Regions from separate parts of the Homo sapiens genome. Here regions 1, 2, 3, 5, 6 and 7 are each linked to region 4. Evidence: promoter capture Hi-C in human tissues and cell types (Jung and others, 2019). All regions are on one chromosome and are shown on one strand. Each heading gives the region's core, a stretch centred on a gene start or on the middle of the fragment in contact. The rest is flanking DNA. Distances are from core to core; before and after follow the strand shown.

The links. The method cuts DNA at HindIII sites, captures the fragments that hold promoters and counts their contacts. A contact is called where the count stands out against the background at its distance.
Region 1: a contact is called between a fragment that was not itself captured here and the fragment with the promoter of TRAP1 in region 4, in 3 of the 25 tissues and cell types used here (adrenal gland, dorsolateral prefrontal cortex and lymphoblastoid cells).
Region 2: a contact is called between the fragment with the promoter of TIGD7 here and the fragment with the promoter of TRAP1 in region 4, in 1 of the 25 tissues and cell types used here (small bowel).
Region 3: a contact is called between a fragment that was not itself captured here and the fragment with the promoter of TRAP1 in region 4, in 4 of the 25 tissues and cell types used here (IMR-90 fibroblasts, hippocampus, lymphoblastoid cells and 1 more).
Region 5: a contact is called between a fragment that was not itself captured here and the fragment with the promoter of TRAP1 in region 4, in 3 of the 25 tissues and cell types used here (dorsolateral prefrontal cortex, liver and lymphoblastoid cells).
Region 6: a contact is called between a fragment that was not itself captured here and the fragment with the promoter of TRAP1 in region 4, in 2 of the 25 tissues and cell types used here (aorta and mesenchymal stem cells).
Region 7: a fragment that was not itself captured here is called in contact with the fragment with the promoter of TRAP1 in region 4 in 1 of the 25 tissues and cell types used here (lymphoblastoid cells).

The regions. Positions count from the first base shown.
Region 1 is chr16:4,128,073-4,132,033 of GRCh38, forward strand. It overlaps the pseudogene DBIP3. Among named protein-coding and RNA genes, the nearest start is that of ADCY9, 14 kb to the left of the region's middle. RefSeq lists enhancers at 3,268-3,769, 3,770-3,961. The HindIII fragment of the contact is 5,808 bases long and covers 1-3,961 here.
Region 2 is chr16:3,303,380-3,307,447 of GRCh38, forward strand. It overlaps TIGD7 (tigger transposable element derived 7), which reads right to left and starts at 2,051. Exons shown (of 2, transcript NM_033208.4): 1 at 1,833-2,051. ZNF75A (zinc finger protein 75A) reads left to right here and starts at 2,118. Exons shown (of 7, transcript NM_001302109.2): 1 at 2,118-2,264. RefSeq lists an enhancer at 1,612-2,141. The HindIII fragment of the contact is 22,904 bases long and covers 1-4,068 here.
Region 3 is chr16:4,165,635-4,169,214 of GRCh38, forward strand. No RefSeq gene overlaps it. Among named protein-coding and RNA genes, the nearest start is that of ADCY9, 51 kb to the left of the region's middle. The HindIII fragment of the contact is 3,313 bases long and covers 71-3,383 here.
Region 4 is chr16:3,715,417-3,719,312 of GRCh38, forward strand. It overlaps TRAP1 (TNF receptor associated protein 1), which reads right to left and starts at 2,108. Exons shown (of 18, transcript NM_016292.3): 1 at 2,005-2,108. The coding sequence starts at 2,092. RefSeq lists silencers at 1,709-1,828, 1,849-2,458. The HindIII fragment of the contact is 28,184 bases long and covers 1-3,896 here.
Region 5 is chr16:4,096,913-4,100,461 of GRCh38, forward strand. All of the region lies in intron 2 of ADCY9 (adenylate cyclase 9), which reads right to left. Among named protein-coding and RNA genes, the nearest start is that of ADCY9, 18 kb to the right of the region's middle. The HindIII fragment of the contact is 5,701 bases long and covers 1-3,549 here.
Region 6 is chr16:4,213,759-4,217,747 of GRCh38, forward strand. All of the region lies in intron 1 of SRL (sarcalumenin), which reads right to left. Among named protein-coding and RNA genes, the nearest start is that of SRL, 26 kb to the right of the region's middle. The HindIII fragment of the contact is 4,807 bases long and covers 1-3,886 here.
Region 7 is chr16:3,402,188-3,406,187 of GRCh38, forward strand. It overlaps ZNF174 (zinc finger protein 174), which reads left to right. Exons shown (of 3, transcript NM_003450.3): 1 at 1-219; 2 at 2,239-2,461. Among named protein-coding and RNA genes, the nearest start is that of ZNF174, 3.0 kb to the left of the region's middle. The HindIII fragment of the contact is 3,410 bases long and covers 940-4,000 here.

The DNA of each region.
Region 1 (3,961 bases), core at 942-3,441, 410 kb after region 4:
CCAGCACTTTGGGAGGCAGAGGCAGGCAGATCACAAGGTCAGGAGTTCAAGACCAGCCTGGCCAACATGGTGAAACCCCATCTCTACTAAAAATACAAAAATTAGCCAGGTGTGGTGGTGAATGCCAGTAGCTGTGGTCTCAGCTACTGGGGAGGCTGAGGCAGGAAAGTCACTTGCACCCAGGAGGTAGAGGTTGCAGTGAGCCGAGATCAAGCCACTGCCCTCCAGCCTGGCAACAGAGTGAGGCTCCGTCTCAACGAAAAAAAAAAAAAAAAAAGAGGAGGAAATTAGGACATACAGAGGCACAGAAGGAAGATGGTGAGGAGACACAGAAAAGACAGCCATCTATGAGCCAAGGAGAGAGGCCTCAGAAGAAACCAACCCCGTCCACACTGTGCTGTCAGTGACAACAGAACTGTGACAACATACATTTCTGTTGTTCAAGCCACCTCATCACCAATACTTAGATATAGCAGCCCTAACAAGCTAATCCAGGTGGTAAACTTTCTGGTATGTGTATTTTACCACAATTAGTAATAATAGGCTGGGCATGGTGGCCCATGCCTATAATCCCAGTGCTTTGGGATGTGAGGCAGGAGGATTGCTTGAAGCCAGTTGAAGACCAGCCTGGGCAACAACACAAGACTCCATCTCTACAAAAAAAAATTTTTTCTTCTTTTTGAGATAAAGTCTCACTCTGTCTCCCAGGCTGGAGTGCAGTGGCACCATCTTGGCTCACTACAACCTCCACCTCCCAAGTAGCTGAGATTACAGGTGTGTGCCACCATGCCCGGCTAAATTTTTTTTTTGTTTTTTTTGACATGGAGTCTCACTCTGTCACCCATGCTGGAGTGCAGTGGTGCAGTATCTGCTCACTGCAACCTCTGCCTCCTGGGTTCAAGCCATCCTTCCAACCTCAGCCTCCCAAGTAGCTAGGATTACAGGCGTGTGCTACCACGCCTGGCTAAATTTTTTGTATTTTTAGTAGAGATGGGATTTCACCATGTTGGCCAGGCTAGTCTCGAGCTCCTGACCTCAAGTGGTCTGCCCACCTGAGCCTCTCAAAGTGCTGGGATTACAGGCATGAGCCACTGTGCCCGGACTAAAAAATTAAAAAACAACAAAACAAAACAAAACAAAAAAAACTTAGTTAGGTCTGGTGGTTTCTGCCTATAGCCCCACCTACTCAGGAGGCTGAGGCAGGAGGATCAAGTAAGCCCAGGAATTGGAGGCTGCTGTGAGCTATGATTGCACCACTGCACTCCAGCCTGGGCAACAGAGCAAAACTCTGTCTCTAAATAATAATAATGAAAATAAAATCATAAGCCTAAGAACATGCAAGTGGAAAACAACCACCACCTGCCTTCCTAGAGCGCACAGACTTCCCGCAGCTCAGAACGGAGCAGGCATGGTGAGTGTTATTAGAAAGGCACCCGGGAGAGTGCAGAAAGACAGGAGGTTCATGTGGACAGAGCAGATTTGGAAAAGCATCTTTGATACAGGAAGGGTGAGAACGGTGTCTTGAAAGAGGTGGTAGGACCCTGCCAGGCAGCCATGGGGCTAAGAGGAAAGAGTTCCAGAAAGAAAGGCACTGTGGGCCAGGGAGCAGGGTGCATTGTGAGAAACAGCACGTGGTGTGGCCCGGGCAGATAAGTGGCCAAGCCAGAGGTGCAGGGCTAGACAAGCAGGCAAAGGGGTCGGTAGGTAGGGCCAGGCTGAAAGGTCAGGATGAAAGTCATTCCAAATTCTGCCCCTGCAAGGAAAGCTTTTTATTTATTTATTTATTTATTTATTTATTTACTTTTTTTGAGACAGAGTCTCACTCTGTCACCCAGGCTGAGTACAGTGGCACGATCACAGCTCACTGCAACCTCAACTTCTCCAGGCTCGAGTAATCCTCCCACTTTAGCTTCCTGAGTAGCTGGGACTGCAGGTGCACACCACCATGCCCAGCATTTTTTTTTTTTTTTTTTTGGAAGAGGCGCAGTCTCACTATGTTGCCCAGGCTGGTCTCCAACTCCTGGGACACAAGTGGTCTTCCATCCTCGGCCTCCCAAAGTGCTGGGATTACAAGCATGAGCCACTGCACCTGGCCTGAGAAACACTATTTTTAAATTTCTATTTCCTGAGCAGGGTTGGAGAGCGTGGGGCTGCGCCTCTCCTAAAGGCACTTGCCAGTGCAGTCCTAGTAATCGCTTCCTGCTCCTTGCCTCCTCCGCTGGCTCCCTGGAGTCCTTGCAAGCCAGTCTCAGGCTGAGTTTCAGAAAGCTGTGGAGGGCTGGGTGTGGTGGCTCACACCTGTAATCCCAGCATTTTGGGAGGCCAAGGCAGGCAGATTATGTGAGGTCAAGAGTTCCAGACCAGCCTGTCCAACATGGCAAAACCCATCTCCACTAAAAATACAAAAATTAGCCGGGCATGGGTGGCATGCAGCTGTAATCACAGCTGCTCGGGAGGCTGAGGCAGGAGAATCACTTGAGCTGGGAAGAAAAAAAAAAAAAAAAAGATGTGCAGGGTATTAAGCACTTTAAGACCAAGCCAGCAGATGATGAGATGCGGTTCCTCTACGGCCACTACAAACGAGCGACTGTAGGCAACATAAAGACAGAACGGCCCAGGATGGTGGACTTCAAGGGCAAAGCCAAGTGAGATCCCTGGAATTAGCTGAAAGGGGCTGCCAGGGAAGATCCCATGAAAGCTAAAGCTTACGTCAACAAAGTAGAAGAGTTAAAGAAAAAATTCAGAATACGAGAGACTGGAATTGGTTGCCAGCCATGCCTTTGTCCTAAACTGAGACAATGCCTTGTTTTTTCTAACACTGTGGATGGTGGGAACTGATGGAAAGAATCAGCTAACCCATCCTCAAGGCTACTCAGGATAAAGTTCTAATAGATTAGGGGCTAAAACGATTACTGACCTTCCCTCAGTAGTTTTTATCTGAGATCAATTAAGTGTATTTGTGGCTGACTGTGGTGCCTCACGCCTGTAATCCCAGCACTTTGGAAGGCCGAGGCGGGTGGATCACCCGAGGTCTGGAGTTTGAGACCAGCCTGGCCAACATGGTGAAACCCCGTCTCTACTAAAAATACAAAAAGTAGCCAGGCGTGGTGATGTGCGCCTGTAATCCCAGCTACTAGGGAGGCTGAGGCAGGAGAATCACTTGAACCTGGGAGGCGGAGGTTGTAGTGAGCCGAGATTGCACCACTGCATTCCAGCGTGGGGGACGGAGCGGGACTCCATCTCAAAAAAAAAAAAAAAGGGTATTTGTTACTTTAAATTAAAAATATCTTTTTCTACTTCCACTGCACAGTCATTTTTCTGGCTCTCCCCACCACACCCCTCACCCTGCACAATTACCCCTCTTGCATGTACCTCTCTAGCCGTGAATCTTCAGGGATGGGAATATGAGGTTCTTGAGATGGGATTCATCGCGGGAATGACTCCAAGAAAAGCTGCCAAGTGAGGCTTTCATTCACTTCCCCAAGATGAAAGAGCTGATCTCTCGCCTGTGTTCCCCTCACAGTCAGGACCTGCGTCTGTTATTTACCACCATGCAATTTAAAATTAGATGCGTGTCACCTGAGGCTCTAACAGCTGGAAGGCTTTAAAATTAGATGCGTGTCACCTGAGGCTCTAACATCTGGAAGGCGGTGATCCAGTCACATTTATGCCACCTGAGGGAACAATCCCGGGTAAGTAGTCCCAGCGGGGCTCAGAGGTTCAGGCTTGTCCCACACAGGGTCCAGGAAGGGCCGGCACTGGGGCAGCCTGGCTCCTGGGCCGTGGGGCTTCAATGCAGGCTGTCCGCACTTCATTGTCCCTCACCACACCTGCTACTAGAAGCCCATCGGTGACCACAGTTGGAGAGAGGGAAGGCCACACGAAGCAAGAAGTGCTGCAAAATCGTGCGATGCTGAAAAGGGAATGCTTGTTTGCAGTTTCGTTCTCCCTGGTTGAGAGC
Region 2 (4,068 bases), core at 801-3,300, 410 kb before region 4:
AGGGCACTGCTTAGCACTGCTAGCAGAACTTCACTTATTCAACTTAATAAATTCTAATTATATATTCAGCATTGGGCCAGGTGATGAGAATCTTAATGCTGATGGCGCTACTGTCCACTGGTTCTGATAGACTGAGAATATTTACTGCTGAAGAAATGAAGTCCCAACCTGGCTGAGATTTTAAGGAAATGAACCTACTTAGACACAAATTCAAGTGACTTAGGCAGATGCTCATTATTAAATCTGTTTATCTTTCTCTCTCACTTAAAAAGGATCAAGATCTATGCCTAAGAGGAGTTACATACCATCCCATCCAAAAGCAAAAATAGCATAATGGCCTGGTAATGGCCTCTCATCTTCATTCTCACCTTAAACTTACCTTAGATGAACTGCCATAGAAAGCAGCTCAGTCCAAAACGCTCAAATGGTGCTCCAGGATTTACTTTTTTGTATTGTTTTGTTTTGTTTTTTGCGACGGAGTCTCGCTCTGTCGCCCAGGCTGGAATGCAGTGGCGTGAACTCGGCTCACTGCAAGCTCCGCCTCCCGGGTTCACGCCATTCTCCTGCCTCAGCCTCCCGAGTAGCTGGGACTACAGGCGCCCACCACCACGCCCGGCTAATTTTTTTTTGTATTTTTTAGTAGAGACGGGGTTTCACCATGTTAGCCAGGATGGTCTCGATCTCCTGACCTCATGATCCGCCCGCCTCGGCCTCCCAAAGTGCTGGGATTACAGGCGTAAGCCACCGCGCCCGGCCAGGATTTACTTTCTTAAATGCACTCTTTTCATTCCCATTCAAAGGACTCCAGTATAAGTGCCACATAAACTCGTTTTCTAACTTTTAAAACTCTTCCTCTAAATGCAGCCCAACTCAGTAAAAACGTACCTAAGATCTCACAGTCTAATGTTTCCAGCTTTTAAAGCCTTTACTCCTACCCTTCCCTCTGCCTGGAAAGTGTCTCCATTCCCTGCTGTGGACAAAATCCCTCAAGGTCTTTTATAATTTCCCCCAACCCCAAATCAACTTGGATTTTCTTGGAGTTCTCACAGCATTCAGTTTATGTCCTATTCTTACCCTTGTGTTACTGATATTCACGAAATTGCTCAGTCCTTTCAAGAGATTGCTTAAGGACAAAGACTTCTTACTCAACTCTGCAATATTGGCTACACATAGCTGACTTAATAAATAGTCCCTTGACTGGTATAAGCTGACGTTACAAAAACTGGTAATTCCGAAACCACTCATACTGGACTTATTAAATAATCCCTCAACTGGTACAGACTGACATTACAAAAACGGATTAATTCAGAGATCACTGAACACCCAAAACACTCAGATTCTTATAACTATGATTCAGTAAATATGTGTGGAATGCCTATCTTACCAGGTGACTATGTTAGGCGCTGCATGAGATATAAGATGAAAACAAGGTTCCCATTTTCCAGGGAAGAATACTGGAGTGGAAAACGCAGAGGATACCACAACAGGAGAGCTATTTCCGATTAGCGGCCGCCACTGCTGAGCTATGTGACCCTGAGCAAGTCACTTCTTAGGTCTCCGTTTCTCTGTCAAGGAGAGATAGAAAAAGAACCTATTTCACAGGTTCAAACCTACCTCAAGAAAAAATAGTTGTGGGGAATGCGTCACGAGACCTAGAAAACGGTACAAAACCCTCGGGGGGCCGCTGTTTCTGACCTAGCGAGTGGCCCGACCCGGACAAAATGCCTCTTCCTCGAGGAGGCGGCGACGAGCCCAGCAACAGCTCGAGCACGGCCGGCCGGGCCGCGGGAAGCCCGAGAACGCGGCGCGCGCAGCTGGGAGGCGACCCTTACCCGGCGAGGCTCCCGGGACCAAACGCCGCCCGACAGCCACGCAGAACAGACGCGGCAGTGCGACGCCTCCCCCACTGGGGACACGAGACAGCGACAGCCACGCGGTGAGCCGGTACAAGGCCCTCTAGGCTTCAGCGGGTCTGGATACTCGGTGGCATTAACCCTTCCCTACCGCCGGGGAAGACAGCAGTTTCTCTGGCGAGGAAGTAGGCCGGGCTCAGGCGCCTTAGCCAGAGGGCGGGCCTGCGCCACCCTCGGAAAGCGTCACTTCCACTTCCGGCCGGCGCTCTGGCTCTGTACCTGGACAGGGCTGCGGTAGGCCAGCGGTGGGCTGGCGGTTGCGCTCCTCAGATCGGCGGCCTTTCGGGCGGTGGCTTGCGTTTGAGCCTCAGAAAGCGAGGAGCGGCCTCCACGGAAGCCAAGCTGGCCGAGGTAACCGAGAAGCGGCTTCCCCTATGGCTTCGACCCTGGAGCCGCTGGAGCGGCGGCGGCCGCAGGGAGGCAGCCATTTTCCGTAGGCGGTGGCCGCGGCGCTTCCGGGCCGCGCGGCTGGAGCCTGAGGCGGGGCCACCGTCGGGCACGAGAAACCATTCTCTCCCCGCTTTTCGCAGCTGTATCCCAGAGGCGCGGCTGAAGCTCGCTGGGACACTGCCCGCTTGCCCAGTGCCCACGGGCACGCCTGTCGCAGACACAGGCTGTGGCGAATCCGAGTGCTGGCGGGCAGCAGTGCCTGCAGCTGCGCCCGCAGACTCTTTCCCGCCTCCGCCGGCATTTCCGTGTCCGGCCGATGTCATGCGGTCGGTTGAGCCTCAGGGCTAGCAGCTTCTACTGATGCAAAAACATAGGAAGTGTCTCTTTGCTTCTGGAACCGGGGTGGGCAGCAAGGAGCTGGCCACTTCTTTGAATACCGGTGGCATCCTGGGCAGAATTTCGGTGCCGTTTCTGCTGGCTCACTTCAGGAAAAGTGAGGCTCACGGCTCTCCTCAGCCCCCCTTAGAAGTCTAAATGACCTTTGGAGAAATACAAAGTCAGCAGAAAGTTTCACTTTCATCGTCACCAACTCCTGTTGGAGTTGATATTTCATAAACATCAGCGACAGAAAGAAAATACGACTTGATATTTTGTAAATAAAATATCCTTTTTTACAAGTTGATATTTTGTAAACAGAGGTCAGCTGTAATTTTCTCCAGATCAAGTAAGCACAGTTAAAAATTCATATAGGCCTGGCGCGGTGTTTGACGCCTGTAATCCCAGCACTTTGGGAGGCCAAGATGGGTGGATCACGAGGTCAGGAGATCGAGACCACCCTGGCCAAGATGGTGAAACCCTGTCTCTACTAAAAACACAAAAATTAGCCGGGCATGGTGGCACGCGCCTGTAATCCCAGCTAGTCGGGAGGCTGAGGCAGGAGAATGGCTTCAACCGGGGAGGTGGAAGTTGCAGTGAGCTGAGATCACGCCACTGCACTCCAGCCTGGGTGACAGGGCGAGACTCCATCTCAAAAAAAAAAACAAAATTCGTATAAATCATCTGCATGGCACCCTTTATGTGTGTTGCAAAGAATGATGAGCATCTTGTTGCTTACTTGGGAGACATTGTCTGAAAATAGGCTACTTTTTTACTTTCTGTAGTACCCCCTCCCCCCACTGTATCTGGGTTTCACTTACCCGCTGTCAACTGCCATCCAAAAAATATTAAATGGAAAACTCCAGAAATAAACAGTTCATAAGTTTTAAATAACTTTTTTTTTTTTTTTTGGAGATGGAATCTCGTTTTGCTGCCCTGGCTGGAGTGCCGTGGCACAGTCTGAGCTCACTGCAGCCTTCACCTCCCGGGTTCAAACAATTTTCCTGCCTCAGCCTCCTGGGTAGCTGGGACTACAGGCGCGCACTACCACACCTGGCTAATTTTTGTGTTTACAATAAAGAAGGTTTCACCATGTTGGCCAGGCTGGTCTTGAAGTCCTGGTCTCAGGTGATCCACCCACGTCAGGCCTCCCAAAGTGCTGGGATTACAGGCATGAGCCACGGCGCACCGCCAGTTTTAAATAACTCTTACTACAGTGTTTTATTGTTAATCTCTTATTGTACCTAATTTATAAATTAAGGTATCATAGCTATGTATACATAGAGAAAATAGTATAATGCAGTTAGATGCTGTTGGGGGTTTTAGGTATTCACAGAATGTACTGGAACTTACCCCCCTTGGAGAAGGGATACTACTGTATTTTGATCTC
Region 3 (3,580 bases), core at 477-2,976, 450 kb after region 4:
TATTCTCTTTGGCTTAAACTACTTCCAGATCATTGGGGTACATGTCATAAGAGAATCCTAACTGATACACTATTAAATTCATTTCTTCATGACTTGTATGACCACTGAAGTTAATTTGTCCTATTGTAGTCCAGATTCAAAGAAGAGGAAAGAATCTCCAGACAAGTGTGGCCCACCAGCATGAAGAGGAAAGCTCTCCAAGCCATGAGGACCAAAAATGAGCCCCATCCTCCTATGCTCCTCTAGAAAATGTGCAACAACAAAATATATAAAATATAGTTTGGTTGCCAAAGAGAGGTCAAATGTTGAACTATGACAGTGATGGCATTCAAATGCATTCATCTTTAATGCTGCATCTGTCTACAAAAACGAAAACAAAGCAAGTAAAGCTCCTTGGTTAAAAATAGTGCTTTTTAATTGGCTGGGCCCAGTGGCTCACATTTGTAATCCCAGCACTTTGGGAGGGCAAGGCAAGCGGATCACCTGAGGTCAGGAGTTCGAGACCAGCCTGGCCAACATGGTGAAACCCCGTCTCTACTAAAATATTAAAATTAGCCAGGTGTGGTGGCACACGCCTGTAATCCTCATCTACTCAGGAGGCAGGAGAATCGCTTGAACAACAACAAAAAAAAATAGTGCTTTTTAAAGCAAACAGGTAAGGGCAAGGGAAAGGACATTGACTGGGAGGCAAGGAGTAAACTTAAAGGGAAAACAGCATCCCACAGATGTGCCCTTGAGGTTGACGCCAAGCCAGAAAGGGTGGTTCCCTACAATTCATCTGGACCCCTAGGAAGGGGCAAAAGTTCAGAAATCCTAAGCTTTAATATAAGGGAGAAGGAAGAGTGGAGGGCAGGGAGTCATTTTCTTTTTTTTCTTTTTTTTAAAATTATTATTTTTTTTTGAGACACAGTCTCGCTCTGCTGCCAAGGCTGGAGCGCAGTGGCGTGATATCAGTGCACCACAACCTCTGCCTCCCGGGTTCAAGCAATTCTCCTGCCTCAGCCTCCCAAGTAGCTGGGAATGCAGGCATGCACCACCACACCCAGCTAATTTTTGTATTCTTAGTAGATATGGGGTTTCACCATGTTGGTCAGGCTGGTCTGGAACTCCTGACCTCAACTGATCTACCCGCTTCGGCCTCCCAAAGTGCTGGGATTACAGGCCTGAGCCACCGCGCCTGGCCCATTTTCTTAGATTAAGAAGCAACACCTCCCATGGTCCAAGCCAGCCGCCTCACACTCCGTAAATAAACCATGCTGATTCAAACCCAAATGGCTTTGCTCAGCTCTCACCAAGCCTGGAAGATCTTCCCTTCTCCTGTCTACTTAATCCAGTCCCAGCCATCCCTTAACACCTAGTATAAAAGGTTCCTTCCTCGCTGTCATCTCTCTGATGTCCCTCTCAACCAGATTCCCACAGCACAGAGAATCACAGCTGGAATGGCCCTGATGGAAAGCATCCAACTTGGCCATCCCTCCTGCTGAAGCTCTTGATTATGTGTCTGATGTCGACTGTTGTGTTGAGATGGGCAAGAACAGAACCACAAAGAAGTTCCCTCCTCCTCTGAGTGATCAAGCCCCAGCCATCTGGAGAAACCAAGGTGAAAAAGTGACTGAGAAGCGTGTCAACAGATAAATTACCCAACTTAGCAAGCCACACTCGCAGATCGGGGTCTTGTCTTTACAGAGATCCCATATTTTCCATGAAACCACCTTTATTATCATCACCTGTTGGAAACAGAATGGGTAAAGAGAGATAGGGAAGGAAAAATATGAATGACCAATGATCTAATTTGCAGCAGATAGGCCCAGGAACAGCTGCGGAGGTGCCATGACTGCTCACAGCCCCACCGACATTGCAGTGTGACCGTCTGCGTGAGCTCCTAGGCAGCGTCCAAAAAGTCAACCCGACCTGCACATGGATGCTGCCCGGAACATTTGGCCAAGAGGGGTCTCTGTATTCAGCTCCAGATGCTGACATTGGCTGGTGGTGATTCTGACCCCCTCACCCTCACCCCATTTGGATTTTAACACGTGCAGGGTCTCAGCTGTTCTTAGGCCTCAAAACAGTAACCAGGAGTCAAGGCATAAAGCTGGGTGGCCCTGACGGCTCCTTGCTGATGGAACTGACTTCTCTGAAGACAAAAGACATGGATTAACAAAGCCTGAGGATACAGAATATTTGAAATCCACACAGAAACTTGGTGCCCTTCCTGTCACCACGGAATTAGCCCTGGGATTTACAGTCATGCACTGCATACTGATGTTTTAGTCAATGATGAACTGCGTATGCAACGGTGTTTTTTTTTTCCTGAGACAGGGTCTCACTCTGTCACCCAGGCTGGAGTGGGAATGCAGTGTGGCACACTCTCAGTTCAATGCAGCCTCGACCTCCCAAGGCTCAAGCAATCCTCCCACCTCGATCTCCCGAGTAGCTAAGACTATAGGCATGCATCACCATGCCCAGCTAATTTGTGTATTTTTGTAGAGACAGGGGTCTCACTATGTTGCCCAGGCTGGTCTCAAACTCCTGGACTCAAGCAATCTGCCCATCCCAGCCTCCCAAAGTGCTGGGATTACAGGCATAAGCCACCACGCCCAGCCTGCAACAGTGGCTCTATAAGCTTATAATACAGTATCTTTACCGTACCTTTTCTATGTTTAGATGTGTTCAGATACACAAATACATACCATTACATTACAATTGCCTACAGTACTCAGCACCGTAGCCTGCTGTACAGGTTTGTATTGCTTGCCATATAGCATCGGTGTGTAGTAGGCTGTGCCATCTAGGTTTGTGTAAGAACACTTTGTGATGCTTGTACAATGATTAAATCACCTAAGGATGCATTTCTTAGAACATACGTATTCCCATCATTAAGCGATGCATGACTATATTTCTATTAATGATCCTGCCATCTTCTTCCCCATCCTCTAGACTTGCTGATCATCTTGGATTCCACTTTTTTTTTTTTTTTTTTTTTTGAGACGGAGTCTCACTCTCGCTCAGGCTGGAGTGTAGTAGTGAGATCTCGACTCACTGCAACCGTCACCTCCCGGGTTCAAGCAATTCTCCTGCCTCAGCCTCCCGAGTAGGTGGGACTACAGTTGCACACCACCACGCCTGGCTAATTTTTGTATTTTTAGTAGAGACGGGGTTTCGCCATGTTGACAAGACTGGTCTCAAACTCCTGACCTCAGGTGATCCACCCACCTCAGCCTCCCAAAGTGCTGGGATTACAGGCGTGAGCTACCATGCCCAGCCGAAATTTTCTTTTCAAAAAACAGACTGTTTTCTCCAGGTGGTAACAGAAGAGCAAGTCAGGTACTTAAAATAGGAGGGGGATTTGATGCACTGTTGCTAGATTGGAAATGGAGGGGCCACAAGGAAAGGACCAGAGAGTGGCCTCTAGGAGTGGAGAGCAGCACCCAGCAGACAGCCAGCAGGGAAACGGGGGCCTCAACCTACAGCTGAAAGGATGGAATCGCCCCCACCTCCATGAGCTTGGAAGTGGGTTCTTTCCTGGAACTTCTGGATGAGTGCCTGGCCCCCTCACACCTTGATTTCAGCCTTTCCAGGT
Region 4 (3,896 bases), core at 858-3,357:
GACAGAGCAAGACTCCATCTCAAAAAAAAAGAAAAAGAAAAAGAGATAAAGAAACAGAATTAAAATGTCCCTGGGCTGAAAACTGACATATTTTCCAAATGGAAGGGACAGTGCATGATACAAAGCATGAATCACAAACACCTGTGGACGCGAGACCACAAACGACAAAGAGAAAAAATCTTAACCTCCAAGGGGGAAAAAACCCGAGTCAGCTACAAAAGAAACGAGAACCAAATTAACAGAACAGTTGGCCAGGCACGGTGACACACGCCTGCAATCCCAGCATTTTGGAGGGCAAGGCAGGCAGATCACTTGAGGTCAGGCACTGGAGACCAGCCTGGCCAACATAGTGAAACCCCACCTCATAAAGACAAAAAAATAAATAAATAATTGATCAGACACTGGTGCTAGAAGAGAGCAACAGCATCACTTTCTGAGGGAAAATTATTATTATTTTTGTTGTTGAGATGAAGTCTCACTCTGTCGCCCAGGCTGGAGTGCAGTGGTGCAATCTCAGCTCACTGCAATCTCTGCCTCCTGGGTTCAAGCGATTCTCCTGCCTCAGCCTCCCAAGAAGCTGGGATTACAGGCGCGCGCCACCACACCCAGCTAATTTTTGTATTTTTAGTAGAGACAGGGTTTCACCATGTTGGCCAGGCTGGTCTTGAACTCCTGATCTGCCCACCTCAGGCTCCCAAAGTGCTAGGATTACAGGCGTGAGCCACCGCGCCCGGCCACAAGGTATCTTTTATAGACCACTGGTTTTGAAAAGACATAAGATTCAGCGTTGAAGAAAATACCTTTGGAATAGGCAGTCTTGATGCCTGCTAAAGGGGATATAAATTGATAAGGCCTTTTTGGACAATTTGGCAGTATCTGCTAACATTTCAAAAATGCATAGGCTCTGAAATATCAATTCTAAAATTCTAATTATGTAAGGCTAAAGAAATACCGCACGTGAACAAATATTTAAGTACTCACCCATTCTATGCAGCATTGTAATAAAAAGTAAAACCTGAAATAACCTTTATTGCGTCCACTAATAGGACAATGTTTAAACAAATGACACGTCCATCATACAGAATACTGTGTGGTCACTGGAAGGCACATGGACCTGTATACACTGACATGAAAAGATGTGGAAAGAATGCTGGGAGCGTTAAAATTTTCTGAAGTACAACGTAGCACAATGCATACATGGTTTAGGCTTTTTAGAATAAAAAATACTTATACGCAGACATTTATATTTACACGTATAACACTGTGTACAGCCCCGAAGCAATGCCGAAACTTTCACTGTTGTTACCTCCGAGTGGGGACTGGGAAAGCAGAGGTTAGGGTCGTTCTCTCTGTTTTACAAACATTTATTGGCGCATCCATCAATTCCAGGCCCCGAGGACACAGCTGCGTCAACGACATCGAGTCCACCTGCTCTGGGGACCCGGATGACTGCTATAGGTTTTGTTCACTGTGGCGTCCCCAGAACCTGCACGGCGCCGGGCACTGAGCGGGCGCTCACATGTGCGTCCAATGAACGAATTAACAAATGAACCCTCAGTGCGCTACTGGGAGGCGGGGAGGGGTAAAGCACGATCCATGGAACTAGCACGATCACCCCGAGTGAGTCCATTCCCCGCAACATGCACCCGCAAAGACTCCGCGCTCCGCAGCGGCTCCACCTGCACGTGCGCTACCTGACTGGACCGAAGCTCCAGGAGGGACGACCCCGCAGCCGCTCCGCCCGACCCCGCGACCCCCCAAGACCCAGCCTCCTTCAGGGCTCCCATGGGCGGGTGGCGAGGGGAGTCCAGCCGAGGAAAAGGCAGCCAAGCTGGAGCTGGCGAGGAGCGGAGCGAAAGTAAACGCGTCTGCCGCGCTTGGCCTCGCCGGACCTCCCACGCCTGTGAAGCAGGTGCCGGCGCCTCGCTCCCCGGAGCACAGGGACGTCCCTGCCGTCTCCGTGGCCCGGCCCGCCCGCTGCCCGTCCAGCCAGGACGCCCTCACCTCCCGGCACGGCCGCCAGCGCCGGCGCCCGCAGCAAAGGCCGCAGGCGGCGGCCCCACAGCAGCAGCGCCCGCAGCTCGCGCGCCATGTCGTACTCCCAGAGCGCCGCGCGCAGCCACGCGGGACCGTACACGATGGGAAGGGGCGGGACGGGGCTGCGCGGGGCGGGGCTTCCTCGGGCGCGGGGCGGTGACGTCACGGCGGGCGCCGGGCTGTCCGGGCAGCTGCCTGCTCGGGCGCGTGGCGGGGTACTACCCGTCTCGTGGACGGTCGGGCCTGGGGGTGGGACCTCCGTGACCTTGGATCGCGTTGTCAAGGGCGACGGGCCTTGCGCGCGGAGGTGGGGGAGGTGGCCCCGCCGCCCCCGGCCCACGCTGGCCGGCTGCGCCTAGCTGTGCGCATTCCTGGAATGGGGCGGATGTCAGTATCCACGCGAGGGTGTGGAGGCGACGCTGGGGAAGAAGCAGTTCCCGTGTCTGCGACCTTTGTGAATCCCGGCCATCCGTCTAGGCCGCTGCAAGTCTCTTGCAAACCAAGACTGGACAAAAAGCTAAAGCGAATGAGGAAGGGGATTCCAGGCTTGACTGGCTACTACTCCAAAACCTGAACCCAGTGACCAATACCACCAGGAAAACTGCGGTTATTCGTTTATTCCACTTCTCTTGTCCTTGTCGAGAAGAGTCAAACTCTAAAGTATTTAGAAGGTTATTCTGAGCCAAATATGAGTGTGCATGGAGGGAGGCACAGTCTCAAAAGGTCCTGAGAACTTGGCCCAAGGTGCTTGGGTTACAGCTTGCTTGGTTTTATACATTTTAGAGAGACATAAGACATCAGTCAATGCATGTAAGACATAGGTTGGTTCCGTGTGGAAAGGCAGGACAACTCAAAGGGTGAAATACTTAGAGGTCATAGGTGGATTCAGATACTTTCTGATTGGCAATTGGTTAAAAGAGTTGAGTTCTGGTTGGGCGCGGTGGCTCACGCCTGTAATCCTAGCACTTTGGGAGGCTGAGGTGGGCGGACTGCCTGCGGTCAGGAGTCCGAGACCAGCCTGGCCAACATGGTGAAAACCCATCATCTCTACTAAGATACAAAAAATTAGCTGGGCAAGGTGGCACGTGCCTGTAGTCCCAGCTCCTGGGGAGGCTGAGGCGGAAGAATAGCGTGAACCCGGGAGGCTGCGGTTGCAGTGAGCCGAGATCGTGCCACTTGCACTGCAGCCTGGGCGACAGAGCTGTGACTCCGTCTCAAAAAAAAAAAAAAAAGAAAACAAAAAAAAGAAAAAAAAGAGTTGAGTTATACAGACCTGGAATCAATAAAAAGAGTGTCTGGGTGAAGATAAGGGGTTGTGGGCACGAGCACGGTGACTCACACCTGTAATCCCAACACTTTGGGATGCCGAGGTGGGCGAATTGCTTGAGGTCAGGAGTTGGAGAGCAGCGTGGGCAACATGGTGAGACCCTGTCTGTACCAAACATACCTGTACCGGATGTGGTGGCGGAGGCCTGTAATCCCAGCTACAAGGGAGGCTGAGGTGGGTGGATTGCTTAAGCCCAGGAGGGAGAGGTTGCAGTGAGCCAAGTTCGTGCCATTGAACTCCAGCTTGGGCAAGAGAGCCACACCCTGTCTCAAAACAAACAAACAAACAAACAAACAAAAAACAGGTTGTGAAGACCAAGGTTCTTATTATGTAGAGGAAGTCTCATAGATGACCACCCTTACAGGTAATAGATGGCAAATGTTTTCGCAAATATTGTTTATTCAGACCGTTAAAAATTCCTAGACCCTCAGGATCAGGAAAAGACCTGCAAAGGTGGCCTGGCATGGTGGCTTACGCATGTAATTCCAGCACTTTAGGAGGCCAAGGTGGTCTTATCACTTGAGGTCAGGAG
Region 5 (3,549 bases), core at 616-3,115, 380 kb after region 4:
TTAATAGCATTACATAAAAATCCTGGAAATTATGCACAAAGACTACCCTGGAGCTTTGCCAGAAACAGGCATGCTGGTTTTCCATGTGTATAAATGGTAATCAAATAAGAATTACCAGGAGCTACAATATTATTAAGATAAATATACTTCTTGAAATCTCCATCTTACAAAGCTTAAAAACAATTGCCAGAACTAGGCCGTTCAACCCCACATTTCCTGGGCCTCCCCTAAGCACTCAGTCCTCTGTGTTTCTGCCCTGCGCCCCACGCCCTCAGCGCAGCACCTCGGAGCCCACAGTCCCAAGCTGTCCACACTCTGGCGCCCCTGGGCCCATTCACATTCCCAGGCACCATGCGCTGGTCAGCCCTCTCGGCCACCACCTTTGCTAGAGCCTATCAAGACCCTCCGGAGCCTCTATTTAATGAACCACTCAGTCATTCCAGCAAAGCGGTTACTGCCTTTCCTCTACCTGGAGGCTTGTTCTGTGTAGATGTTTGGGGTGTGGTTTCACACATAACAGGGTACTCACATGTGGAGTTACATATATATATATATATATATATATATATATATATACACACACACACACTATATATATGTATAAATACATATGTACATATATATATATATATATATATATATTTTTTTTTTTTTTTTTTAAGACAGAGTCTTGCTCTGTCATCCAGGCTGGAGTGCAGGGGCGCAATCTCAGCAACCTCCATCTCCTGGGTTCAAGAGATTCTCCTGCCTCAGCTTCCCGAGTAGCTGGGATTACAGGTGCCCACCACCATGCCCAGCTGATTTTTGTATTTTTAATAGAGATGGCATTTCTCCACGTTGGCCAGGCTGTTCTTGAACTCCTGACCTCAGCTGATCTGCCTGCCTTGGCCTCCCAAAGTGCTGGGATTACAGGCATGAGCCACCATACCAGGCTTATATTTACTTATTTATTCATTCATTTATCAGCAAATATTATCACACATATATTATATGCCTGGCTATATTCCCAGCGCTAGGAACACAGCAGGAAGTAAAACATGGAAAATTCCTGCTCTTAAGATGCATTCCAGTGGCGTGGAAACAGATTATAAACAAAATTAAGTCAAATACATATGATGCAAGCTGGAAAAGAGAGTGGCTGGCCCATAGCTCCAGGAGGCACTGTTGAAAGCAAGGCTCCTACTAAGGGAATTCCTGGAGTTGGGCCTTCTGGAATGTTCCACAGCGGTCCTGAGGGATGGGGTTTGCTGGGCTGGGGGAGGACTCCTCAGTCTGCAAACATGTCATCTACGTTTTGGTTTGGGATTTTTTGTTTTGTTTTGTTTTTGTTTTTGGTTTTTTTTTTTGAGACAGAATCTCACTCTGTCACCCAGGCTGGAATGTAGTGGTGCAATCTCAGCAACCTCTGCCTCCCGGGTTCAAGTGATTCTCCTGTCTCAATTTCCCGAGTAGCTGGGACTACAGGTGCACGCCACCAAGCCCGGCTAATTTTTGTATTTTTAGTAGAGATGGGGTTTCACCATGTTGGCCAGGTTGGTCTCAAACTCCCGACCTCAGGTGATCCGCCCGCCTCGGCCTTCCAAAGTGCTGGGATTACAGGCATGAGCCACTGTGTCTGGCCTGTAATATTCATTCATTTATTCATTCATTCATTCAGCCAATATTATCAGGCATGTATTATATGCCTGGCTATATTCCCAGCACTAGGAACACAGCAGGAAGTAAAACATGGAAAATTCCTGCTCTTAAGATACATTCCAGTGGCGTGGAAACAGATTATAAACAAAATAAGTCAAATACATATGATGCAAGATGGAAAAGAGAGTGGCCGGCCCATCGTTCCAGGAGGCACTGTTGAGAGCAAGGCTCCTACTAAGGGATTTCCTAGAGTTGGGCCTTCTAGAACATTCCGCAGCTGTCCTGGGGGATGGAGTTTGCTGCAGGACTCCTCAGTCTGCAAACAGGTCATCTACATTTTGGTTTGGGATTTTTTTTTATTGTTTTGGTTTTGTTTTGTTTTGCTTTGTTTTGTTTTTGGAGACAGAGTTCTCACCGTGTCACCCAGGCTGGAGTGCAGTGGTGTGATCTCAGCTCACTGCAACCTCTGCCTCCCAGGTTGAAACAATTCTCCTGCCTCAGTTTCCCGAGTAGCTGGGATTACAGGTGTGCGCCACGACACCCGGCTAATTTTTGTATTTCCAGTACAGACAGGGTTTCCCCATGTTGGCCAGGCTGGTCTCAAACTCCTGACCTCAAGTGATCCACCCGCCTCAGCTTCCCAAAGTGCTGGGATTACAGACGTGAACCACCACGCCCGGCCTTTTTATTGTTTTTTTATCACGATTTACCTACATTCACAGACACCTGCCCCTCAACAGGCATTAGTGGGAAGATACAGAAAGAAATTCTACATTGCTCTCAATTGTAGGAATGCAAATTAAAGCTTCCAAGGAACTCGAAGATGCACAAACCGTTTCTTGGGTGGCATTATTTCCTCATAGAAACATGCATATACTATTCATTTTCTTTTCAAAAAAGATGAGGGTAAACTTTAGCTCAGTCTCTCTGAATAAACATATCAGACAAACAGAATTAATGAGATTTTAATACCTATAATTTCTCAACTCTTTAAAAAGGTTACTAAAAGGGTATGAAAGTTATCAAAGACCACTGGGGTTGCATGAAGAGGACTCAGCAGCCAACTTAAAGGGGCTCCCATGGGCCCCAAATGGGACAATCTGAGCATCAAAAATCATGTATCTGTAATGGAATGAAATACATCAAATAAGCTAAAATCCAAGAGTTTATATTGATTCTTGAAAAAAATCACCTTTGGAGGACGTTAAGAAACCATCTCAGCTGGGTGCCTTGGCTCACGCCTGTAATCCCAACACTTCGGGAGGCCAAGGCAGGAGGATGGCTTGAGCCCAGGAGTTTGAGACCAGCCTAGGCAACATGGCAAGACCCTGTCTCTCTCAAAAATTTGAAAAAATCAGCTGGGCGTGGTGGTGCACATGTGCAGTCACAGGGAGGCTGAGGTACGAGGAGCACTTGACCCTGGGAGGTTGATATAGTTTAGCTCTGTGTCCCCACCCAAATCTCATCTTGAATTGTAATCCCCATGTGTCGAGGGAGGGACCTGGTGGGAGGGGACTAGATCATGGGGGTGGTTTCCCCCATGCTGTTCTCGTGAGAGTGAGGGAGTTCTCACGAGACCTGATGGTTTAAAAGTGGCAGTTCCCCCTTCGCATGCTCTCTCTCTCACTCTCTCTCTCTCCTGACACCATTTAAGATGCGCCTTGTTTCTCCTTCATCTTCTGCCATGATTGTAAGTTTCCTGACGCCTCCCCAGCCATGCAGAACTGTGCCAATTAAACCTGCTTTCTTTATAAATTACTCAGTCTCAGGTAGCATCTTTTTTGTTTGTTTGTTTCTGAGATGGGGTCTCACTCTGTTGCCCAGGCTGGAGTACAGTGGCGCGATCTGGGCTCACTGCAACCTCCACCTTCTAGGTTCCAGCGATTCTCCTGCCTCAGCCTCCCAAGTAGC
Region 6 (3,989 bases), core at 233-2,732, 500 kb after region 4:
TCCTGCCCTCACGTAGGACTCCATCTTTCCAAGGTAGTTTCCTGTGCTTATTCTTCTCTGATGCTCCTAGCAGCCCTCTGAGGCAGAAAAAGCAAGGGTTGTTAACCTCTCTTGAAATGAGGAAACAAACACACGGAAGTCAAGTCGTTTGCCTCACAAGTCATTCCAGGGATGGGCTGGAACTCAGGCCAAGAGACAGAACAAAGCTCCCTGGGAGCGACCATGACCTGCTGAGCTGTTCAAGCCCAGATACCCAGCTTCTGGGGCTGGGTCAACGTGTACCTGTGTGTTTCACAAGGGGATTCTACAGAACACCAGCATTTCGGACCCTCTGCACTAGCCATCCTCAGTACCAAGGGCCAGGAAGCTCTGTCTTGAAGTTGAAACTAGAGATGGAGAGAATAGAGGTCAGGACCTGTTTTCAGCCCACCTCTGGGTGTTGAATGTATTCAGTGCCTTCGTGCAATCAAATGTAGATTCTATTCCAGCCCGTCCAAGTCTCCTTAGCACATGTTTATAACAAGTACCTGCCAAGGTTATTCTTCCACATGACTTCTCATCCATTTGAACTAGAGCTAGCAAGTCCAAAGTCATGCGTAAGTAAAATACCTCTGACCATTACTCATACACAGTTATGCAAATCAGTCATTAGTAACAGAATCCCCAGCGGGGGCAGGAATCACTCTCCAAATCTCTGCCTGGTTCATCTGTCCCAGAGAGTGAGGAGCACCAGCCATGGCATACATGTGAGCCCCATGTCTTGCCCCCATCCACCCCCCGCCCCACGTTTTGGCTCTCATTGGCTGTATATTAAGTGCAGCAGGGAGCAATTCAGAAAACAGAGTTCATGCCGCAGAGCAGGCAGCCTGCCCCCTTCCTTGTTCTAGATCTTGTCTCTGAACACTCGTGGACCGGGCAAACGTGGGCCAGCAGCCTCTTCTGGTGTCCTGTTTTTCCTTGACTTTATCCTACTGGGTAAACATTCACTGCTCAGGACCCCTTGCTCTTCCACTTTTTTTTTTTTTTTTAGACGAAGTCTCATTCTGTCGCCCAGGGTGGAGTACAGTGGTGCGATCTTGGCTCACTGCAACCTCTGCCTCCTGGGTTCAAGCGATTCTCCTGCCTCAGCCTCCCGAGTAGCTGGGATTACAGGTGCCTGCCACCACTCCTGGCTAATTTTTGTATTTTTAGTAGAGACAGGGTTTCACCATGTTGGCCAGGCTGGTCTCAAACTCTTGACCTCAGGTGATCCACCCGCCTCAGCCTCCCAAAGTGCTGGGATTACAGGCATGAGCCACTGCACCCGGCCTCTTCCACTTCTTAGATGAAGTCTTAGGACAACTTTGCAGAAGGCTGTTGCCCATAAGGACCCGAGAAGAGAAATTCTGGCTGGAGGAAGGCTTGTCTGCATTCTCCCAGGACCCCTGAGGTCCTCTTCTGCCATTCTCTCAGCCTTTCCCTCTTCTCCCAACATGGGCGACCAGAGTGCAGGGGCTGAGGCAGCCATTCTTGGAAGGCTTCTTTGGCTTCCTGGCCATGCTCCTAAAGTCAAGGCTAATCCCACTGGGACAGCTTGTCCCTGGCTGGACTCTAGCCCTTAAAATGATTCATCCAGGGAATCAGATACAATGACAAAAGTATGACAGGGTACAATGACAAAGGTAGCAATCAGAAAGAACCTTGGGATTTGGGGGTCCAGAGAGATCTTCTGATAGACCAACTGGCTTGATTTCACTCATGAACAAAACCCCAAAACCCTGGTAAGTGCTTGTCCCAAGGCCATGGGGCTAGTTAAGGTAGTAGGCAGCAGTCTGCTTCTAGAACTCAGCTCTCTATGGACGCTCTCCCAGCAGTGGGCCAGCCAATAAGAGGGTCTAAGTCTACCCTAGGACAGTGATTTCTTAGCCCACCCTCTTCTACTCTTCAATAACAACTGTTTTAGGCTGGACGCAGTGGCTCTGAGAGCCCATGGCTCACACCTGTAATCCCAGCACTTTGGGAGGCCGAGGTGAGAGGATCCCTAGAGCCCAGGAGTTTGAAACCAGCCTGGGTAACAAAGCAAGACCTCTGTCTTGCTTACTACTTGCTTTGTCTTACTACTGGCCCATCTTTCCAAAAAATTTTAAAATTAGCTTGGCATGGTAGCGTGCGCCTGTGGTCCCAGCTACTGGGGAGGCTGTGGTTGACGGACCTCTTGAGCCTAGGAGTTTGAAGTTGCAATAAGCTTTGATAACACCACTATACTCCAGCCTAGGCAACAGAGGGAGACCCTGTCTCAAAAAAAAAAAGGATTAAGACTTCAGCACAATTGTTTTTAACCCATAGAGTCCTGAGAATTGACAGAATAACTTCACTCCTCACCCCACCTCCAATTCCTGGGAATTCTTGGTTTGGGAGGTAGAAAGAAATTACCAGAAATCCCACAACCATCATATATATACATGCTTGTCACTGATGCCTGGAGGAGTCATCAGTATAAATGACTATTCACTTTTATTTTATTTTATTTTTATTTTATGTATTTATTTATTTTTTGAGACAGCATCTCTGTCACTCAGGCTGGAGTACAGTGGTACAATCTCAGCTCACTGCAACCTCTGCCTCCTAGATTCAAGCGATTCTCCTGCCTCAGCCTCCTGAGTAGCCGGGACCACAAGTGCACGCAACCACACTCGGCTAATTTTTGTATTTTTTGTAGAGATGGGGTTTCACCACGTTTGCCAGGCTGGTCTCAAACTCTGGACCTCAAGTGATCCACCCGCCTCAAGTTCCCAAAGTGCTGGGATTATAGGCATGAGCCACGATGCCCAGCCACTATTCACTTTAAAAAGACAAATACCTCAGAAAGAGCAAAACATTATATCCTAACCCCTCAGTATGAGTCAATCACTAGCAGGGATACTCTATAGAGCACTCAGTTTTTCCAGAGATCAGCCGTGCCTGCAGTGAACAGAAATCCTTGCAGAAGGCCTTGGGCCTGCTGCCTCCCTTCAGAGGGGCCGAGCTGGGGAGGAAAGGGAAAGGAAGGGGAAAGGGATGCAGGCTGGGTTCTGAGACAGACCAAGGCAGGTGGCTGGCTTCCCCCCACATCCCAGTCCGAAGAAATCCAATCTCCCTGGGATCTGTGGGGATGAGGTGCTGGTCTAACTTTTGGGCCCCAGACAGGAAAAGACTTACTGGAAGCCAAGGGAGCGTGGCTCCCGCAGGTCTCAGTCTAACAGCTATCCTGGGTTAAAGTCAGAGCCATCTCCAGCTTGGCAGGTGAAGGGGTCAAGGAATCTGGGCCCACCCCATCCCCAATCCAGGGAAGCTGGAGGGAATCTTCTTGAGAAACGTGGGAGCTTGGGAAATGGGTGTGACACCTTCCCTAGCCTGAGCCAGGCCCACGGCTATGCCTTTTCTTTCTTCCTGGGGCTGAGGCTCCAGCCTCCTAGATAGTGGCTGGTCTCTCTGAATGCACCTGGAAGTCAGGAAAGCTGGGTTCTGCCCCTTACTCTTTTTCTTTTTTTACAGACCCTGTCCCTTAGAGACAGGGTCTTGCTCTGTCACCTGGACTGGAGTGCAGCAGTGTGACGAAAGCTCACTGCAGCCTTCCTACTTGTCACACTTCAGCCTCCAGAGTAGCTGGGACTACAGGCACGCGCCACCATGCCTGGCTAATTGTTTTATTTTTTGTAAAGACAGGGTCTCACTATGTTGCCCAGGCTGGTCTCAAACTTCTGGGCTCAAGCGATCCTCCAGCCTTAGCGTCTCAAAGTGCTGGGATTACAGGCGTGAGCCACTGGCCCCTCCCCTGCTGTCTTACCACTGGCGCCCCCACCCCCCGCTGTCTTACTACCCAGCGAAGTAACCTTGGGTTGCTCCTTACTCCCTCTGCACACAACTTTATTCGCCCATAAAATGTAGATAACAATACCTGCTTTGCCAGCCCCATCAGAGCGTTTTAAACATCAGGTGGTGCTCAGAAGCATTTCAATAAATGTCAGCTA
Region 7 (4,000 bases), core at 1,395-3,894, 310 kb before region 4:
GAGGCTCTCTCCCAGCTCCGACAGCTCTGCCGTCAGTGGTTGCAACCCGAGCTGCACACCAAGGAGCAGATTTTGGAGCTTCTGGTGATGGAGCAGTTCCTGACCATCCTGCCCCCGGAGATCCAGGCTCGGGTCAGGCATCGATGTCCAATGAGCAGCAAGGAGATTGTGACCCTCGTGGAAGATTTTCACAGAGCATCCAAGAAACCAAAGCAGTGGGTAAGGAGGGTCCTCTCCCATCATCCTGGGGATTTCTTTTTCTTTTCTTTTTTTTTTTTTTTCTTTTTTTGAGACGGAATCTTGCTCTTTCGCCCAGGCCCGAGTGCAGTGGCGCTATCTCGGCTCACTGCAAGCTCCGCCTCCCGGGTTCACGCCATTCTCCTGCCTCAGCCTCCCGAGTAGCTGGGACTACAGGCGCCCGCCACCGCGCCCGGCTAATTTTTTGTATTTTTAGTAGAGACAGGGTTTCACCGTGTTAGCCAGGATGGTCTCGATCTCCTGACCTCGTGATCCGCCCGCCTCGGCCTCCCAAAGTGCTGGGACTACAGGTGTGAGCCACCGTGCCCGGCCGATTTCTTTTTCATCTGGGTAATGTTTGGTATCTGGATCTCTCCCTATTTAAGTCTCAGAAGTGGACTGGATGGCTTCAGAAGTTGCTTCCAGCCTCTATCTGGGAACCTATCCTGAGTTATTAACAGGTTTTTAGAAAATCCAACTACTGATACCCAGTGAGGCAACAGAGGACCAAGGTTCTTACCATTCCTTTATGCACCTTGTGTCACCAGAAGTAATTGTAAGGTTCTTAAATCCCTTCTGTCAGCTCTTCCCCCACCCAACTTAGTTTTCCTACTAGCAGAATTCTTAGCAGATAGGGTCACCCTGTTGGGTAGCAGTTGGACTTTGGGGAACTTCATTTCATTGGAAGTTCTAGCTTATTGTCTTTCCAGTGTTTAGCTTATAGTCTTTTTTTTTTTTTTTTTTTTTTTTTTTTTTTTTTTTTGAGATGGAGTCTTGCTGTGTTTCCCAAGCTGGAGTGCAGTGGTGCCATTTCAGCCCACTGCAACCTCTGCACCCCAGGTTCAAGCGATTCTCAGGTCTCAGCCTCCTGAGTAGCTGGGTTTACAGGTGCCTGCCACCACGCCCAGCTAATTTTTGTACTTTTTAGTAGAGAGGGGGTTTCACTATGTTGGCCAGGCTAGTCTCGAACTCCTGACCTCAAGTGATCCTCCCGCCTTGGCCTCTCAAAGTGCTGGGATTACAGGCGTGAGCCACCACACCTGGCCTAGCTTTTTGTCTTTGATTTTTTTTTTTTTTTTTGAGACTGGGTCTCACTGTGTTGCTGAGGCTGGAGGGCAGTGGCACGATCTCAGCTCGCTGCAACCTCCATGTCCAGCTCAAGTGTTCCTCACACCTCAGCCTCTCAAGTAGCTGGGACTGCAGGTACATGCCACCATGCGTGGCTAATTTTTGTACTTTTGTAGAGACAGGGTTTCTCCACATTGCCCAGGCTGGTCTTGAACTCTTCTTGGGCCCAGGCGATCCGCCCGTCTTGACCTCCCAAAGTGCTGGGATTACAGGAGTGAGCCACACAATGCCTGACTAGCTTATTGTCTTTGGATCAGGAAGTTACAGTTCAACTGGCCAGCGTTGCCATTGCTTGCCACTCCCCGCCCCGAAGTCAGACCCCAGTCAGGACCTAGGCAAGAAGCAAACGGCAGGTACTTCGGAAAATAGAACTTGTTAGGGAATGAAGGTGGGGTGGTCCTCTTAGACCCCTACTACTACTGGGATCTCCTTACCAGGAAAGCCTTTGGCAGAACAATGTATTAGGTAAGAAGGACTTTTAACAGCCCCTCACCATACTGCTTCCTGTTCCTACAGGGCCTATTTCCAGCAGAAGTAGGTGGGGGGTGGTGTGTAGAGTAGGCATCTGATGGCCCAGTGTTGTGACTGACCCTGATATTTGTGCCAGCAACTACCCTGATGACTTTGACTCTGGCCCTTGAGAAAGGCCCAAGCTTTAGGGGAAGCCACTCGGCTGATTTGTAGCATCCTCATTCCTGTCATTCTTCACGTTCTCCCCTTTACTTCCTTTGAGGGTTTCAGTGGTTTCTATGAAAGTTGACCTCTAGATGGTTATCAGCAATTCCCAAGGTAAACGGGTCATTATACAACAGTGAGAGATCAAGCTTCCCTCAGTCCTGATGGATGGAATTAATGGATGGGGCTTGTTCCTAGGTGGCCGTTTGTATGCAGGGGCAAAAGGTGCTCTTGGAGAAAACTGGATCTCAGCTTGGAGAACAGGAACTGCCAGACTTTCAACCGCAGACTCCTAGGAGAGATCTCAGGGAGAGCTCTCCAGCAGAGCCTTCCCAGGCAGGAGCTTATGACCGGCTGAGCCCCCATCATTGGGAGAAATCCCCACTCCTCCAAGAACCAACCCCCAAATTGGCTGGGACAGGTAAACACTCTGCCTTTTCTCTCCCTCTCATCAGCCCTTTATCTCCATCAATGTATCTCATGGTTCTGCAAAGGCATAGACCACATGTGTGTGTTTTTTTAAATGTTATATATAATAGTAGATGATTATTCACTAAACAAATTTCACTAATTAGGATGGTGGTGATACTACAAGTAAGTATGTTTTTATCGTTTTCTGTTAATGAAAATTTAAGAATCCAGTGCATGACAGGGTTGTACCTACTTTTCTGTCCGTTTCAGAACTTCTTATAGAAAAGACAGATCCAAATATGGCCACAGATGAACTTCCATGCAAGCTATGGCTGAGTTTCATTGCTTAAAATGCTCCTCTGTTTAGAGGGGCCTGGTAGAAATAAAAACCCACCCTATATCTTATATCTTTGTCCTCCTCTGTGATGTTGCTTGTACTTTAGATCCTCAAATCTATTTCCCTTTCTCTGGTGTGATACTTGTGTAACTGCTGGCCTTGTTCTACACAGTCCTGTGATCTCTAAGCCTGAATGACAGTGACATTTTGGCCAAGCCTGGTGATGTGAATACAAGATACAGTGAGCACGTTAGGGAGGAGGGTTACAAGACGACAAAAATCCTCAGTTTCTTAATATTTGCTACATCCAATGAGGTACTTCGTGTTTTAGTCTGTTCAGGCTGCTAATATAAAATGCTAGAGACTAGGTAGTTTATAAACAACAGGAGTTTATTTCTCACAGTTCTAGAGGCTAGGAAGTCTGAGTTCAAGGTGCCAGCATGGTTGGGTTCCAGTGAGGCCCCTCTTCCAGGTCACAGACTGCCTACTTCTCAGTCCTCATGTGGCAGAAGGGGAAGACAGGCTCCCGTGGGGCTCTTTCATGAAGGCACTAATCCCATTCCAGTGAGGGCAGCACCCTCATGACCTAATCACCTCCCAAAGGCCCCATGTCCTAACACTATTACCTTGGGAGTTAGAATTTCATATGAATTTGGAGGAACATAAACATTTAGCCCCTGGCAACCACAGTCTACTTTTTGTCTCTAGAATTGCTTATTCTGAACATTTTATACAAATGGAATCACACAGGCCGGGCACAGTGGCTCACGCCTGTAATCCCAGCACTTTGGGAGGCCAAGGCAGGCGGATCACTTAGGCTCAGGAGTTCGAGACCAGCCTGGGCAACATGGCGAAATCCTGTCTCTACAAAAAATGCAAAAATTAGCGGGGCATGGTGCTGCACACCTGTAATCCCAGCTGCTTGGGGGAGCTGAGGCAGGAGGATCACTTCAACCTGGGAGGTCGAGGCTGCAGTGAACTGAGATCGTGCCACTGCACTCTAGCCTATGTGACAAAGTAAGACCCTGTCTCAAAAATAAATAAATAAATAAATTGAATCACACAATATGTGGTCTTTTGTGTGTGGCTTCTTTCACTGAGCATGTTTTCAAGTTTTATCCATGCTGTAGCATCAATCAGTGCTTCATTCCTTTTCTGTGGCTGAATAATAGGCATTGTACGGATATATTACATGTTGGTTTTCTGTTCATG